Regions from separate parts of the Homo sapiens genome. Here region 1 is linked to region 2. Evidence: promoter capture Hi-C in human tissues and cell types (Jung and others, 2019). All regions are on one chromosome and are shown on one strand. The core of a region is centred on a gene start or on the middle of the fragment in contact, and the rest is flanking DNA. Distances in the headings are between cores, read along the strand shown. Region 1 has its middle 64 kb from the start of NBPF3. Region 2 holds the start of ALPL (alkaline phosphatase, biomineralization associated).

The links. Contacts are between HindIII fragments. The study calls those that stand out against the background at their distance.
Region 1: a contact is called between a fragment that was not itself captured here and the fragment with the promoter of ALPL in region 2, in 1 of the 25 tissues and cell types used here (mesenchymal stem cells).

What each region holds. Positions count from the first base shown.
Region 1 is chr1:21,374,365-21,377,280 of GRCh38, forward strand. No RefSeq gene overlaps it. Among named protein-coding and RNA genes, the nearest start is that of NBPF3, 64 kb to the right of the region's middle. The HindIII fragment of the contact is 4,268 bases long and covers 1-2,916 here.
Region 2 is chr1:21,507,989-21,511,094 of GRCh38, forward strand. ALPL (alkaline phosphatase, biomineralization associated) reads left to right here and starts at 1,435. Exons shown (of 12, transcript NM_000478.6): 1 at 1,435-1,529. RefSeq lists a silencer at 1,243-1,342 and enhancers at 1,378-1,948, 1,949-2,518. The HindIII fragment of the contact is 25,718 bases long and covers 1-3,106 here.

The DNA.
Region 1 (2,916 bases), core at 236-2,735, 130 kb before region 2:
TGCACCACCACACCCAGCTATTTTTAAAATTTACTTTATGTAGAAACAGGGTCTCACTATGTTGCCCAGGCTGGTCTCAAACTCCTGGCCTCAAGCAATCCTCCCCACTTGGCCTCCCAAAGTGTTGGGATTATAGGCATGAGCCACCACACCTAGCCGAAATATATATATGTGTATATATACATATATATATATGTATATATACACATATGTGTATATATACATATATATGTATATATACACATATGTGTATACATATATATATACACATATGTGTGTATATACATACATATATATATATATATATATATACACACACACACATATGTGTATATATATATTTTTTTGAGATGAAGTCTCACTCTGTTGCTCAGGCTAGAGTGATGTGATCTCAGCTCACTGCAACCTCTGCCTCCTGCCTCCCGAGTTCAAGCAATTCTGTCTCAGCCTCCCAAGTAGCTGGGACAACAGGCACCCATCACCATGCTCGGCTAATTTTTGTATTGTTTTTAGCAGAGATGGGATTTCACCATATTGGTCAGGCTGGTCTCGAACTCCTGACATCAGGTGATCCGCCGGCCTCAGCCTCCCAAATATAGTCTTATAGGACAAGCTTTAAGTACCTCCAAGATTGGAAACAACTCAAGGATGCCTGAAATCACGGATACTACTTAACTTAGCCCTAGAGTTCTTTCTTTTTCTTTTTTTTTTTTTTTTTGAGATGGAGTCTTGCTCTTTTTCCCAGTCTGGAGTACAGTGACGCGATCTTGGCTCACTGCAACCTCCTCTTCCCAGGTTCAAGTGATTCTCCTGCCTCAGCCTCTTGAGTAGCTGGGATTACAGGTGTCTGCCACCGCATCCAGCTAATTTTTGTATTTTTAGTAGAGATGGGGTTTCGTCATGTTGGCCAGGATGGTCTCGAACTCCTGACCTCAAGTGATCCACCCACCTCGGCCTCCCAAAATGCTGGGATTACAGGTGTAAGCCACCGCTCCCTGCAGTCCTAGAGTTCTTGCTGACATTTCAGAGAAACGGAAAAGTGTGAGGATTGAAAAATAAGAGGGAAAACTGTGATTACTTGCAGATTATATAGTCACCTACAAAGAAAAACCGATAGAATAATTACCAGATAAAAGGCCTACCTATTAATATAAAAACTAGGCCGGGCACAGTGGCTCATGCCTGTAATCCTAGCACTTTGGGATGCCGAGGTGGGCGGATCACCTGAGGTCAGGAGTTCGAGACCAGCCTGGCCAACATGGTGAAACCCCATTTCTACTAAAAACACAAAAATTAGCTGGGTGTGGTGGCATGCACCTGTAATTCCAGCCAGTCGGGAGGCTGAGGCAGGAGAATCATTTTAAAAGAGAAACCATAAAAGTTTGGAAAATTTGCAGCCTGACAATGTGGTAGAAAAGAAAAATCAATTTTTTGAGGAGAAATTCAAGCTGGCTGTAGAAATTTGAATAAGTAACAAGGAGCCGAATGTTAATCACCAAGACAATGGGGAAAATGTCTCCAGGGCATGTCATAGGTCTTCATGGCAGTCCCTCCCATCACAGACCTGGAAGCATAGGAAGAAAAAATGGTTTCATAGGCTGGGCCCAGGGTCCCCATGCTGTGTGCAACCTAGGGACTTGGTGCCTTGTGTCCCAGCCACTCCAGCTGTTGCTGAAGGGGGCCAAAGTACAGCTCGGCCCATGGTTTCTGAGGGTGCAAGCCCCAAACCTTGGTGGCTTCCACGTGGTGTTGAGCCTGAGGACGCACAGAAGTCAAGAATTGGGGTTTAGGAACCTCTGCCTAGGTTTCAGAAGGTGTATCAAAACACCTGGATGTCCAGGCCAAAGTTTGCTGCAGGGGTAGGGCCCTCATGGAGAACCCTTTGCTAGGGCAGTGCAGAGGGGAAATGTGGGGTCATAACCCCCACACAGAGTCCCTACTGGGGCACCGCCTAATGGAACTGTGAGAAGAGGACCATTGTCCTTCAGACCCCAGAATGGTAGATCCACCAACAGCTTGTACCATTTGCCTGGAAAAGCCACAGACACTCAATGTCAGCCCATGAAAGCAGCCAGAAGGGGACTATACCCTGCAAAGCTGCAGGGGCAGAACTGCCCAAGACTATGGGAACCTGCCTCTTGCATCAGTGTGAACTGGATGTGAGACATGGAGTCAAAGGAGATCATTTTGGATCTTTAAAATTTGACTGCCCTGCTGGATTTTAGACTTGCATGGGCCCTGAAACCCCTTTGTTTTGACCAATTTCTCCCCTTTGGAACAGCTGTATTTACCCAATACCTGTACCCCCGTTGTATCTTAGGAAGCAACTAGCTTGCTTTTGATTATTCAGGCTCATAGACAGAAGGGATCTGCCTTGTCTCAGATGAGACTTTGGACTGTGGACTCTTGGATTAATGCTGAAATGAGTTAAGACTTTGGGGGACTGTTGGGAGGGGATGATTGGTTTTGAAATGTGAGGACATGAGACTTAGAAGGGCTAGAGGCAGAATGATATTGTTTGGCTCTGTGTCCCCACCCAAATCTCCTCTTGAATTGTACTCCCACAATTCCCACATGTTGTGGGAGGTACCTGGTGGGAGATCATTTGAATCATGGGGGCAGTTTCCCCCATACTGTTCTTGTGGTAGTGAATAAGTCTCATGAGATCCGATGGGTTTATCAGGGGTTTCTGCTTTTCATCCTTCTCATTTTCTCTTGCTGCCACCATGTAAGAAGTGCCCTTCACCTCCCGCCATGATTCTGAGGCCTCCCCAGCCATGTGGAAGTGTAAGTCTAGTTAAACCTCTTTTTCTTCCCAGTCTCGGGTATGTCTTTATCAGCAGTGTGAAAATGAACTAATAAAGATGGGGTTTCATCATATTGCTCAGGTTGGTCTCGAACTCCTGGGCTCAAATG
Region 2 (3,106 bases), core at 185-2,684:
CTATGTCACGCCTCTAAATAAACAGTATCAACCAAAAATACAAAAGAAACAAAAATAAATACAAAGACATTCTTGGTTTCTGGCACCAGGCCCCAGTTCTGGCTCCAACCTTACTGAGAAGTCACATGATCTCTCTGGGCCTCAGTTTTCTCCTCTGGAAAATGGAGCTTTTGGAAGTTAATGCATGCACAGTGCCTGGCCCTGAGACTGGCATGGAGTGAGTGGAAGAGAGGTTGCCTGACCTGGCTAAAATTGGTTCTCTGGGCAGACATTTTCCCAAGGGCCACTGAGAAGACCCTCCTGTTAGGAGTCAGTGAGCTCTGTCGCTGGAGGCATTCAAACAGAGCCTGCGGACTTCTCACTGCGAAGTTGCCCAGAGAATTCAGTGCTCAGAGGAAAGGGAGTGGTTATTCCATCAGAGCTGGTTCCCCAGGAGCGGGAGCAGGGCCTGTAGCACCCAGCCTCTGTCCCTGGCTCCCGTCTATCCGGGATTTTAGCGTTTCCTCTGTAGTTTTCAAGCACTGTCTCATATGACTCTCGCACCAGCGAGAGGCCAGGGGAGATGGTGTCTGCCTGTTAAAGAGGGGCAGGCTGGTCCACATAGGTCAAGTGACTTGGCCAAGGTCACCAGAGCAGAGTTTTGAACTTGAGCTGTCTGACTCAACTGCCTGGGAAGTGCCTGCCCCTCCTCTGGCATCCAGGGAGCATGTCCTGGGGCTCTGGCTGGGACATAGCCGGACACCTGCGGGCCCTTTACGTCTCTAAAGAGAGAAAGAGGGAAGGGCCCCTGTCTAGGGGGTGGTTTCCCTCCAGATGCCACCCCTCCGAGGTCCCCTTCTGCTTCTTCTTGCGGTAGCCAGGGAGGCAGCCCACGGGCAGGGAAGCGGGGGTGGGGGTGCAGAGTCAGAGGTGCACGTGGACAGAGACAGAGAGACAGGGACACGTGGGCAGAGACGGATAAAGACAGAGACCCAGAGAAAGCCAGATATGTTGACAGACACAGAGACAGACGCCAGAGAGGAAGGCAGACAAAGAGACGGGTGGAGACAAAGACTCCCACCAAGAGACGCAGAAGGAAGATGCCGACGGTAAAGACAAAACAGGAGACGCGCGCAAGGAGCAGGTCAGAGCCCAGGCTCGCTGAGAGAGGAAGGGCTGGGCTGGGGCAGCCCGGAGGCAGAGAGACCGAGAGTGCGGGGCGGGCGAGGGACGCCAGGGCCGCGTCACCCCAGCCCGTTCCTAGCTCCGCTCCCGGCAGGGGGCGCCCTGGCCTCGTGGCACGACCGGCCCGCGGGGCGCGGGGCTCGGGCCGGGGGCGGGGCCGGGGCCGGGCTGGGGAGGGGTTGGGGCCGGGGGCGGGGGAGGGGGCGGGCTGCCCGGGCCTCACTCGGGCCCCGCGGCCGCCTTTATAAGGCGGCGGGGGTGGTGGCCCGGGCCGCGTTGCGCTCCCGCCACTCCGCGCCCGCTATCCTGGCTCCGTGCTCCCACGCGCTTGTGCCTGGACGGACCCTCGCCAGTGCTCTGCGCAGGTAAGGATTCGACGCTGCCCCGCGCCCTGGTTCCCCAGGGCCCCAGCGGACGTGGTCCATCCCCTTCTGCATCCTCCGCTGGCCCCGTGGTTGAACTTTAATGGCAGGGCCGGGGTCTCCAGCGCCACGCCGCCCACAGCAGCCCATTCGGGACGCCCTGCAATTGGTCCTGCCCCTGTCCTCCCGCGCATCCCAAGCTCCCGGCGCGCGCTCTGGGCGGGACAGGAGATTGGACGTGGCGCCCGCGGAGCCGGCGAACTCAGGGGACCGCGCTCGGGACCGCCCTGCAGTCCCAGGGTCTCCTACCTCCCGAGCCGCTGCCTGGGACCCTGCGCTCTGTCTGGGCACCTGCCCTTGGTGCCCCGTGACTGAGCCCCTCCTGGTGCCTCCTTAGCCGTAGCTCTAGAGACCTGGGCTGCCAACCCCAAGGCCTCGTGGCCTGGCGCCCTCCCAGGCGTCCCACCTGACCCGGTGGGGTCTAAAGCAGTTTGGTTTGGGAGGAGGAGAGGGCAGGAGGCGCTTGGAATGGGGGGCGTGGCGGGAGGAGACAGAGGACACCCGCGTGGGTGTCAAAGTGTGGGCACCCACTGTGGGCACCGCAGCTGTGGGGCAAAGCTCTGGAGCCCGCGAAGCCGAAGGAGCCTGCCGCCCCCTTTAGGCTTTGCGAGGTGGGCCTCCCAGGGCTGCTTCCCTGCCCAGTCTTGGTAAGAAAGGGTTAAACGCAGGTCTCAGCAGAAAGGCAGGAGGCCGAGGAAAGCCTCCCCCACTCCCCATTGTGCCTTATGACTCTTTTTCAACACATAATGGGGTCGAAGGCGGGGCCTTTACAAAGGCCTCTGGGTGGAGGGTGAAATTCCTTGAGATCAAAAGAGGGGGCGATTCTTGGGCCAGGAAGGGCTTTGGGCCCTGGGAAAAAGTCAGACCGCTCAGGTGGGCCCAGCTGCCCAGGGAGGCAGGGGTTGGGTCCCAGCCTCAGTGTAGATACTGCAACTGTTTTTTGAAGGCCTACCGTGCGTAGAGGGACCTGCTCTGACATCTCATGTACATCATTTCATTTTACAAATGGGGAAACTGAGGCTTAGACAATTTAAGTAAGTGGTGGGACCAGGGTTTGAATCCAGACTCCAAACTCTGCAGCCCTAGCGTCCTGCTCCCACTGTGTTGCCTAAGAGATAGGGGGCTGAGCCTTGGTTTTGTCTTCCGGCTCCTCCTGGGCTCAGCCCGCTCTTCCTCCACTCTCCAGTCTTGCTCTTTCCAACTGTTTAGTCCTCCCCACCTGTGGGTGTCCCCACGCTGTCCTGCCCCAGCCATCCCACTCCCTGGCCCCATGCATCTTGTTCCTGTGTCACCTTTTTCTTTCTTTAACTGAATACCTGTGAATTCCCTCAGAAGAGGCCCCTGGACACAGCTTCTCAACATCCCAACTGGTGAAGACTAGGCTGAGTGATGATCCCGGTCCATGTGCCCATTTGTAAAAAGGGGTGTATTCCCCTTTCGGGACTATTGTGAGGAATAAAACTGAACTGAGGCCAGAACAAGATGCTATCTTCATTCAGCAAATACTTAAGCATCCGCCG